Regions from separate parts of the Homo sapiens genome. Here all the other regions are linked to region 1. Evidence: promoter capture Hi-C in 16 types of primary human blood cells and fetal thymus (Javierre and others, 2016). All regions are on one chromosome and are shown on one strand. Each heading gives the region's core, a stretch centred on a gene start or on the middle of the fragment in contact. The rest is flanking DNA. Distances are from core to core; before and after follow the strand shown.

What was found. Contacts are between HindIII fragments. The CHiCAGO score rates a contact against its expected background, and 5 or more counts as called.
Region 2: a fragment that was not itself captured here is called in contact with the fragment with the promoter of CD200R1 in region 1 in 6 of 17 cell types (M1 macrophages, M2 macrophages, M0 macrophages and 3 more); the score reaches 10.9 in M1 macrophages.
Region 3: a contact is called between a fragment that was not itself captured here and the fragment with the promoter of CD200R1 in region 1, in 8 of 17 cell types (M1 macrophages, M0 macrophages, M2 macrophages and 5 more). The highest score is 10.9, in M1 macrophages.

What each region holds. Positions count from the first base shown.
Region 1 is chr3:112,973,593-112,977,445 of GRCh38, forward strand. It overlaps CD200R1 (CD200 receptor 1), which reads right to left and starts at 1,511. Exons shown (of 8, transcript NM_138806.4): 1 at 1,199-1,511. The coding sequence starts at 1,265. The HindIII fragment of the contact is 1,253 bases long and covers 1,470-2,722 here.
Region 2 is chr3:112,829,471-112,833,266 of GRCh38, forward strand. All of the region lies in intron 3 of CD200R1L (CD200 receptor 1 like), which reads right to left. Among named protein-coding and RNA genes, the nearest start is that of CD200R1L, 15 kb to the right of the region's middle. The HindIII fragment of the contact is 5,298 bases long and covers 1-3,796 here.
Region 3 is chr3:112,794,448-112,798,274 of GRCh38, forward strand. No RefSeq gene overlaps it. Among named protein-coding and RNA genes, the nearest start is that of CD200R1L-AS1, 6.1 kb to the right of the region's middle. The HindIII fragment of the contact is 391 bases long and covers 1,337-1,727 here.

The DNA of each region.
Region 1 (3,853 bases), core at 261-2,760:
GAAAATTCTCAATAGAAAGGTGCAGTCAAAGAGTGTAGTTATTTTGCATGTGTTCACTAGTAAGATTAACATGTGGAAAGAAGATTTTTTGTGGAAGATAAGCAGCATTTTAAAGTCATTCAGAAATGAGGAAAAATACCTTTTCTTCTTTCAATTATCAAATTATAACATTTAAAACCAACTACACTCTTCCCTTGCAGCTGCTCTGTCTACCAAAAGTGAAACCTGAAAACTCCCTCCCACACCAACTCCTACCAACCTTCTACAGTGAAACCAGGACACCCCCACAGTGGCCCAAGTTCTCTATAACTTCTATAGGAACCTAGATGTTGAAGAGTCTGTTCTCTAACTCGTAGTGTCTCTTACAGCCCACACATCTTGAAGATAAATACAGACATACATCACAGACGCACCACTGTAACTGTAGGCATATTATATTTTTGAAGTGCCTAATCATCGAAAGTGACAGAAAGCAATAAACTGTCCTAATCTATGCCACTGGCAATGTGGACCTAAATGAGTTAGCGTTCTTATCTTAAAAAAAAAAATTAAGAGAGAAGAGGCTGGGTGCAGTGGCTCATGCCTGTAATCCCAATGCTTTGGGAGTCTGAGGTGGGAGAATTGCTTGAAGACAGGAGCTCAAGACCAGCATGGACAATATAGCAAGACTCTATCTCTACCAAAAATTTTAAAAATTAGCCAAGCATAGTGGCGCATATCTGTAGTCCTAGACACTCAGGAGGCTGAGTGGGAGGACTGCTTGAGACCTGGAGTTACAGGCTGCAGTGAGCTACGATTGCACCACTGCACTCCAGCCTGGGCAACAGAGCAAGACCCTGTCTCAAAAAAGGGGGTTGGGGAAGAGAATAAGATAAAGAGAACCTAACTGACTTTGATTGCTGCTAGTATGTATTTGATTTATCCTGCCTTGTTCAAAAAACAGGAGGAAATAAGGAAATGGACAGTAAGACAAATTATAGAGATCTGTATATTGTAGTAGGATACAAAGTACAACAAGCAAGACACCGGAAAAAAGGATAATAAAGTAAACTAGATATGGGAGTAACCCATATTTAGCAACCCCCTATATTTATTATTGCAATTGATTTGTATTGCCCCAGAAGAAAGACAAAAAATAAACTCAGGAAGAGCTGAGACCAGGTTTCTCACTGTTCTCCCAAAGAGAATTCAAACTTACCGGCCACTAAGAAGATAGTCAAAATCAACAGTAGCCCTAGGTTAGCAGTTCTCCAAGGGCAGAGCATTTCTGTTTTCTCTTTTTCTGCCCTTCACTCAGTACTTTTCCTCCACACAGGTACAGAAGGAACTGTGCGCATGGTGAGACCCTCTCTGGTCAACTTCTCAGTACAGGATCCTCTTACCCCATCAACAGTGGGGCACTCCCTTCCTTCTAGCCCCTTCCTTCACGTCTATGTGGTTTAGCCTGGTTAGTAACTTGGACGAACAGAAGCTTTTCTCTGGAACTTGACACAGCAATAGATTTCCTGTATGAAGCCCTGAAGCAAAGACGGAGGAAGCAGATTGATTGAATTATCTCTCAGCTCATTGGTTCTCCTCTCACTTCTGCTGTACACAGACAAACTTTACAGTAAGGCATTGAACGTGTCCAAGATAAACAGATTTGTCTAAACTTGCACCAAAAAGTAAAACAGAATATTGATCTACTTTGGCCCATCCTTGTAAATTTCCCAATTATGATGACTTTTAGAGGCTTTCTCCAGGTTGAAGAGCTTTACGGCCTTAGTATTTGAGTCTGGAATACAATATGTTTTCTTGAAAATTATTGTGTGAAATTCCTGTCTATAATGGGAGTCAACACACAACCCTGTAAACATCATATGTGTATTAGTTTCCTATTGCTACTGTAAGAAATTACCACAAACTCAGTGGCTTAACACAACACAACATTTATTATCTTACAGTTCTGGTGATCAGAAGTCTGAAATGGATCTTAGGGGACTAAAATCAAGGTGTTGGAAGGGCTGCACTCCATCTGGAGGCTCGGGCAGAATTTGCTCCCTGCCTTTTCCAGCGATTTGAGAATGCCTGCATTTCTTGGCTTGCAGCTACATCATTCGGACCTCTGGTCCACTGTCACATCTTCTCTGACTGTGACCCTTATGCCTCCCTTTTATAAAGACCTTGTGATTATTTTTGGTCCACCCAAATAATCCAACATGATCTAATTTCAAGATCTTAATTTAATCACATCTGCAAAGTCCTTTTTGCCACACAAGGTAACATTCACAGGTTTCGGTAATTCGGACATAGGTATCTACCTTGTTGGGGGTGAGGGCATTCTGTTTATCAGAACTCAGTACTTATTGCCATTCAGTTTCACCTTTGGAAAATTAGACTGATCATTTTAACCAAATTACAAATAATCACCCATCTCTTAGTTGCCACACATCTGGAATTCAGACTCCCCCTAACCAAAAAAAAAAAACAACAACAACAACAAAAAAACCTCTTCCTTACTGTTGCTAGTTACTATGTTACTATGCTTTTAAGTTATGTCTGAGAGAGGGAAAAATCTTCTATGTGCTGAGAATTTTCTGCCCCAAGGCAAAACTGTACAGGAAGGGGAAGAAAACATTGCAAACAGGAAAAAGATTAAACAGCATGCATTTTTTTTCTCAGTTAGCAGTTTCATCTTCCTTCTTGCCAAACATTATAAATATTTCCCCCCTTCCCCTTCTCAAGCTTTTTTTTCCAGTTAATTAATTTGATGAAGACAGTGAAACCAGATCCTTGAGGGCATGGAACACTTAAGGGTATGAGCTGTGACAATGGGAAGACCAAAACAAAAATGTCTTCTCTTCTGTCTAATGTTTCACCAGGTGTCGGAAAATTAGTGAGAATACATCATTTAAAATACAGATAATATTCTGGTTTTCCACTACATAGAAGTGAAAGTTGGCCGGGAGTAGTGGCTCATGTCTGTAATCTTAGGACACTGGGAGGCCGAGGCGGGCAGATTGCCTGAGCTCAGGAGTTCGAGACCAGCCTGGGCAACATGACAAAACTCCAAACTCCATCTCTACTTAAAAAAAAAAAAAAAAATTAGCCAGGTGTGATGGCACTCATCTGTAGTCCCAGCTACTTGGGAGGCTGAGGCATGAGAATCGCTTGAACCCAGGAGGCAGAGGTTGCAGTGAGCAGAGAGAAGTTAAAGTTAAAATTCACACTCGCTTAGGATACAGATAGACATAGGGTTAAGTCTCTGTTGTGCAATTACTAGTCCAGTGATACTGGGAAAGTTTCTTACTCAAGTCTGTATCTGTTTATATTATATTGACATTAGCTTTTTCTCATGTCATCAAAAATTCTTGGAGATCATTTATTTTAATATCTGCTCAATGACATAGCCAAAACTAAACCACAGAAGGGCTAAATGGCCTGTGGCCTCAAAACAACTTATTGGCACGGCTGGGAATAAAATGTGTTATATTTCGTAGCCCTGTGTTCTTTTCACTCAACTCCTCTACTTTGAAATTTCAGGCAACAACTTTCATAGACACACTCCAATGCACTCACCTGAGGTCAGACCACAATCTGCAATCAGCAGTTTAAGAATCAAGTGATGGGTATCAAAAACCATAAAATTCACTAAATAGATTTGGCAGGATGACAGTTTCTCTCCCTGGTCCCTCATCCTCTCCACCCCCAAATCACATGCCTGTAACCTCTCAACTCCCACCTTCTACCTTTTATGGACCATGAATGTTTAAAACAATAAAGGGACTAAAAGTTTGTTAACATAATCATCCACTAAAGACATGCCATGAAAGTCAGTATAATAAGAGAAAGATGTGTCTGGTAAATACACCTC
Region 2 (3,796 bases), core at 403-2,902, 140 kb before region 1:
TGAAGACAATTAGTTAACCATAACTAAAATTATACAAAAATCATTGTAAAACAGAAATTAGAAGTTATGCCATCATTAGAGGAAAAAACATGTTAACATCTTGAAAATTATACTTATAAGCAATTGATAATGATTTCTCATTCATGAGATGCTTTGTTTAGTCAACTAGTTTGTATGAGGTAACCATGCCTCCCCCTATTCCTCCTTCCCCAACCAAGGAGATGGGTCCATGTGGGCATCTCACATGAGCTGGTCCAATTATACTCCTTTCTCCAAATGCTGGAGACAGCATCTTTAAATGAAATTTCTCTGCACATTTTTTTTCCTTTTTAACCTAGCTCCTCTAAAAGAGTGAAAGAAATGAACACAAAACTGGAATAATTACTAACCAGGAAGTAGCTCTATAGACACTCTTGTTGCTACTCAAATGTGCCTATCATAAGGTCATGGTAGACACATTGTGGCCCTCCCAGTGACATGAACTCCCAACAGTCACTGTGCCATTGCCCCAATATTCTTGGTTGGTGACACAATCCCCCTGCGGGGTCCAGGAGATCTGTGCAGCTGGCTTTGCTGCAACTGTCTTACACACCACAGCTCTATGCCTGCTTAGAAACAGGGTCACTTCGGGGGAACTGCAGAAAGGTAAGGAAAAAGTGCTTCAATCTTAACATAAAGAATATGAAATTTAGAGAGACATTTGTTTCAGTCCAAATCTGATGATGTGCAATGCTACAATATATGATGTTCCTTTCCTAACACTTGGTATGGTTAGGATTAGGTACTTCAGTGATGGCCTAGGGGAATGAATGTTGCAGTAATTCTCAAAGCGTGGTTTTCAGATGGCTAGGGATAGCCAAGACCCTTTCAGTGGACATCATCATGGGTGATATCCATGATGGAAATTCCCATCAGGTGTTACCATTATTCACCTGTAATACCCATAATGAGTGAGGACAATGGGATCAACCCAAAGGGAAAGATTCCAGTCAGGACTGGAGGCCTACGTTATACTCTTGTCATTGCAGTTTTTTTTTTTTTTTTTTTTGCATTGTCTCATTTCTCTCTTTCCTGTAGGCTTTGATGCAGGAAGAATTGTTTCTGATGAGTATTTCCCATGCTGTTACCATCACACTTGTCAATAGGATGGGATGGCAACAGAGCATAGCCTTTGTATCCATTAGTAAAGACAGTGAAGTGCTAACTGGACACAACAAGAAAACGAAAATGATAAAAATTTCTACATGCCAATTTCTTCTATTGGGTCTCATTTAAAGTCCCATAAAACCCTTCTTTTTCTTAATAAGTATTTTACCCACCCTGGATGTAAAAAAGTGGTTGGAGAGGAGAGAGGAGAGATATTTTTGTGTTCATTTCTTTCACTCTTTTAGAGGAGTTAGGTTAAAAAGGAAAAAAAAAAAAGTGCAGAGAAATTTCATTTAAAGTTGCTGTCTCCAGCATTTGGAGAAAGGAGTATAATTGGACCAGCTCATGTGAGATATCCACACGGACCCATCTCCTTGGTTGGGGAAGGAGGAATAGGGGGGAGGCATGGTTACCTCATACAAACTAGTTGACTAAACAAAGCATCTCATGAATGAGAAATCACTATTAGTTGCTTATAAGTATAATTTTTAAGATGTTAACATGTTTTTTCCTCTAATGATGGCATAACGTTTAATTTCTGTTTTACAATGATTTTTGTATAATTTTAGTTATGGTTAACTAATTGTCTTCAGCTTGCAACTCAAACATTTGATATAAATGCATTTCCTCAGGATAATCACCATGATTTGGTATGCAACAAAAATGTGTTAAATGTATTTCCAATTCCATCATGTAGAATACTTAAAAGATACTGTATATAAGGCTTCAGATTTAATACATTAATTATTTTTACTGAATCATCAAAGACATTCTTAGGCAATGTGTACGTGTGTGCATGAGTGAGTGAAGAATACAATGACTATTGGTACAGCTTGGTGCCTCTTATAGGTTGAATTGTATATCTGAAAATTTACATGTTGAAGTCCTAACCCTCAGAGATGTGATCTTATTTGAAAATAAAATCATTACAAGTATAACTAGCTAAGGTAAAGTCATACTTGAGCGGCATGAGCCCCTAACGCAATACAATTGGTGTTTTCATAAAAAGAGCAAATTGGACACAGATATGGACACAGGGAAAGCACCATGTAAAAATTGGAGGTATGCTGCACAAGCCAGGAAATACCAGAAGCTGGGAGAAGGGCTTGAAACAGATCCTTTCGTAGTGCCTTCAGAGGGAGAATTGCCCTGCCAACACCTTGATCTCGGAGTTTTAGTTTCTAGAACTGTAACACAATAGATTTCCATTGCCTCCACTTCTCACTCCATGGTTCTTTGTTACAACAGCCCTAGCAAACTAATACAGTGCTCTGCACTTCATTCATGCTAAGGCACCAGTAATTTTAAACAACAGTTCAATTGCACTATCAGTGAAAATATCAGTAGAAAGGCAAATAACATCACTGTATTATCATTATTATTATTATTGTAACTCATTTTTACCGAGGTGACCCACTGAAAGGGTCTTGGTTATCCCAGCCATCTGAAAACCACACTTTGAGAACTGTTGCAATAGTTATTCCCCTAGTCCTTCACCAAAGAACCTATGACCATGTGTTTAGGTAACCATAACTGGGGAAAAAGGAATACAAGGATCTTTTGAAGGTTATTTGAATACTAATCTGAATTGATCCTGATACCCAAGAACACAAAGAACATTAAGGGCCTCCTGTTAGAGTAGAAACATATCGGAGTCAGATGATAAAAGAAATCCTGGGCCTGGTTCATATCACAGTGGACCTTCAAAGTCCACAGACTTATACAGTGGTGATTTTTCAGTTGCTGAATATTTAATTAGAATGAACATGCTTAGCAGCTTGCAGACCATCTTGTTGATTCCTTGATCTGTAAAGTAAGTGCTATTATAATAGGAAAGACCAAGATAAATCCCCCAAACCACCCCCCTTGGCGAAGATAGTAAATAAATATTAATACTGAAGACCTAAGTATGAGTCTCCTCTCAGAGACTTAAAGTATACTAAAATAGTGGTCCCCATCATGTCTCTTACTTAATTTACCAGTTAGATCCCTGCAAAACACTGGATGGTGAATTATAGTAGATCAATGCAAAATTACCAAAGTATCAGCCCCAACGGCAGCTACTCTGCCAGATAAGCTATCTTTACTAGAGATACTCCAGTTGCAGTATGTGGTTATTGATCTGGTAAATGCATTATTTTCAACATTCATCAGGAAGGAACATCAAAAATAAGTTTGTATTCCACAGGACAGTAGAGAGTATATAAATATGGTCTTGCCTTAATTTCTACTTTCATGTACAATGTAATCTAAAAAGATCTAGGCTATCTGGGCATTTTGCAAAGACCATCATATTGGTCTACTATATTGATGACATCATATCAATTAGATCTTCTGAGCAAAAAGTGAGAGTTATTATGAATACCTTAGTTAATCACATGCATTCCAGAGGTGAGAAGTCAATTCTACAAAGATTCAGGGCCTGACACATTAGTGAAGTTTCTAGTAGGCCAGTGGTCTGGACCCTACCATATATCCCCTCTCGAAAAAAGGACAAATTATTTAACCTTACTTCCTACCACTGAGTAGCACAACACTTGGTTTTGGAGGCAGCCTGCTGCATATTTGCGATTACTGCTCTGACCCTCTAATAGGATGCTAGTCCAAGTGTGCTCCAGACCAAGAAAGGAATCTGTAACAGGTCCATGCT
Region 3 (3,827 bases), core at 282-2,781, 180 kb before region 1:
CTTGAGAAAAATCTTGAGTTTGGGCATGTTATCCTTGGAGACACATTTCTCGTCATATAGCAACGCTTGTGGAGCTTTCATTTCCCCTCAGCAGAAAATTCCGAACTGAGATGGTCACCTTGAAGGTAACAGCACCCACAACAATCTTGGAATCTCTGATCACAATGTCCTTGCTTCTTTCTAAGGCAGGATTAACCGACCTTCCCTCTTGAGTTCAGTTTCCCTGCCCACTCCAGTCTCCACCCCATAAGAGATGAGACCTGCCTCCCAGGACATGGGCTTAAATGACCTCTGAGAGGTAAACATTGAGAAGACATTTTCCTGCCCTAGACCCTACCCTTCAGGCGCCTGTCAGCAACGATTCTGATGTTAGTGAGCCAAAGGCAGCCCTGTCCTACCTGGCTCCTGCCAGAAGCTGCTGCCTTTGAAAATAGCAGAAAGAGCTTTTTCTGTTAAGAGGAAGCAACAGAACCCCTGGCAACAAGCAGACCTCATACTTCCCTCAAGCCACTTGTTTACAGACGGGCCCAGAGTAGGGAAAATGAGGTCAAGGAGCCGCTTCTGTTTCCCTCTTTACTGGGCCTAGGTGACCTGAGAGATGACCTTCAGAACCAGATACCTTTATCTACTGCCTCGGTGCCTGTGAGACTTGTGATATCAGCAGGGTTCTGCAGAAATCCCTTGTTATCCTTGTAAAGATAACAAGTTAGAAGTCTTTTAAAAGGATATAGATTTTCATGTGCAAACTAAGAGATATATTCTGGAAAAGTGCAAACTATATAGTTTTCATAGGGCATTTTCCTGCATTCACTTTGATCAAATAACCAGCAGCCCAAGTCTTTACTCTCTGTTTTTATACTTCTTTTAGCATCCTCACTTTATAAATGAGGTAAACTGAGGCTCAGAGGGATTAAGTGACTCATTTCAGGTCCCACAGCTAGTAAATGATATAGAATCCCGAGGATTCCAAGCTAAGATTTCTGATTCTCTTTACCCATTTGTAGCCTTTTCAGATGTATATTTCACCAAAGCATGTTTAGGTTTATTTGTTAGTTTAACATAGGTGGCTTAAGACTGAAACTTTCTAACATTAAGAGAGTCTGAATCCCTGTTAGAAAAACCAGACATGTATTTATGAAATTCTAAGCAAATTATGTGTCTCTGGGAGAAACCGGTAGATCACAATTGGCAAAGGAAGTCTAAACCAGTCTCTCTTAATTATGTTACCAAGAGTTGCTTTCTGTGTATAGGTCATTAGTTCGATTTAAGCATTAGTGTGTGCAAAGGGTGTGTTTCTGTGTGTGTGTATTAGAGGTGTCCATGGGATACACAAATAAGCTTCAATATAGAGCAGGATAAAGCCAAAGAATAAGTACATTGTATACAACAGAACAACTAGAGTGTTCTGTAGCTTTGAAAAACATTGTGGCCAAACAAAATGTTCTGCCAGGGGCAACATGGGCTAGGTCTCTATCATCCGAATATGAATGGGTCATATTTTCAGGTTCTGTTGGCCTTTGAGGCCCAACCTAACACACTATGTTCTTGTGTAGCTGAGTTGCCCAACAAAACCAATGGTTGCATTTGAAGATCAAGAAAGAAAAAGTTAACTTTCATTCCCTTTCTCAGAACTGTACCTTCTTTAGAGAAATCCTTAGTCCTCAACAAGTGCCTCTAAAGAGAATAAAATGAAGCGTGCTTCTTCTGAGAAGCTATAGCATTTTGAAAGCTTATTTTCAATTGGATGAGGGTTTCATTACAACCATGTAATAGTAACTACTGTTAATTGAATGTGCAGGTACAATACAGATGTCATCTAATTTAACCACCAAGAAAGGCTCATGACAAAGGCAGCATTTGTCATATTTTCAGATTCAGAAACTGGGGTTTAAATATTTTAAGTAATTTGATCAAAAAGAACCTGTGGAAAATGATGGAGCTTTCTGACCACAAAGCCTTAGCCACTATGCTATATTGCTTCTCAATTTTACACTAGGGAAAGGCTAAATTATCCACACAGGATAGATGGTAGTTAGCACGAGATGACCAAGAACCAAGTTGTGAAGAACTGTCCTTGTAAATTAGAGGACAACTTTAATTTTGATCTTTGCTTTGAAGGGAACTCACCCCAACAAGCACATTCCAGTTTTTAGCTGGTTACATTTGTTTTAAAACATACTGATATCTAAATGCTTTGCTAAAAACACAATTCTTCTCATCTTCTGAAACAAGAGAAAAAAAGTCACATAAAATTATGTCCAAATTATTCACATGTAAAAACTTCGCTTGAGCTGATTACATGATTATTTTGTCCTAAAAGAAAATTACATGGAAGTTCAAATTTATCTGAAATGGAGAACTCTATGGAAGTTTCACTACAAGTACCAGTGACATTGATAATTTTAAATCACAATAGTCTTCATACAAATCCCATTGTAATGTTCTTGAAAAGTAAAAACGATAGCACCAAAAATTGTAAAATAGTGATTTGTTTTGTCTACTTGGCATTGCTAATGCTAAAGTCAAGATACAAAAACAATTACAGATAGGGGAAGTTACTTGCAATGCATACATAGACAAAAAAATTATAGCCTGAATATATAAAGAACACCCACAAATCAATAGGAAACATAAATATGAACAATGACAAATGATAGCACAAGAAAAAAATGGCTTATGAACAAATGAAAAGCCACTCAACCTGACTAATAATCAAAGATATGTATTTTAAAATCATGAGATACTCTTTCGGTCCTTCAGAGTAGCAAAAGATAAAAAGTCTAACAAAACCAAATTGGAGATGATATTAAAAAATAAAACCATTAAAGTGTAGGCCAGGGACTATGGCTCATGCCTGTAATCCCAGTGCTTTGGGAGACCAAAGAAGGAAGATTGCTTGAGGCCAGGAGTGTGAGACCAGACTGGGTGACACAGCAAGGTTCTGTCTCTACAAAATAAAATTAAAGTGTAAATTGACACAGCCAATTAGGAGAACTGGGAGTTACGACATTTTACATCTCACTATGTACATGTTAAGAGTTTTTTTGTTGTTGTTTTGTTTTGTTTTGTTTTTGTTTTTGTTTTTGAGAAGGAGTTTCATTCTTGTTGCCCAAGCTGGAGTGCAATGGCTCCATCTTCACTCACTGCAACCTCCGCCTCCCAGGTTCAAGCGATTCTCCTGCCTCAGCCTCCCAAGTAGCTGGGATTACAGGCATGCACCACCACACCTGGCTAATTTTGTATTTGTAGTAGAGACAGGGTTTCACCATGTTAATCAGGTCAGGCTGGGCTCAAACTCCTGACCTCAGGTGATCCACCTGCCTCAGCCTTCCAAAGTGCTGGGATTACAGGCATGAGCCACTGTGCCCAGCCTCAAGAGTTTTTTACAGAGATAATCCTTGAAATAAAATTGTTCAGAAAGAAAACTCAATTTTAGTAAATATAGCTATATTTACAAGACAAACTCTTGATATATACATAATAAGACATGTAGGATTAGCAGCATTATGTATCATAGAAAAATTGTGGAGAATATCCATCAATGGTAGAATATCTAAACGAATGGTGATATATTCAAACAATGGAATATTATTTAGCAATGAAAATGAAAGAAGAACAGCTACACACAGTAACATGGATAAATACTTCGGACATGATGAGAAGAAGCAAAACCTATAAATTTCAGGAGAATGAACACATATGAAACCATTTATATAAAATTTAAAATATGCAAAATTTAAAAATATATTTTATAAGGATACAAATATATGTGGAAGCTATAGAGAATTTCAAGACAATGACACACCTTGAGTTCAGGACCATGGTTA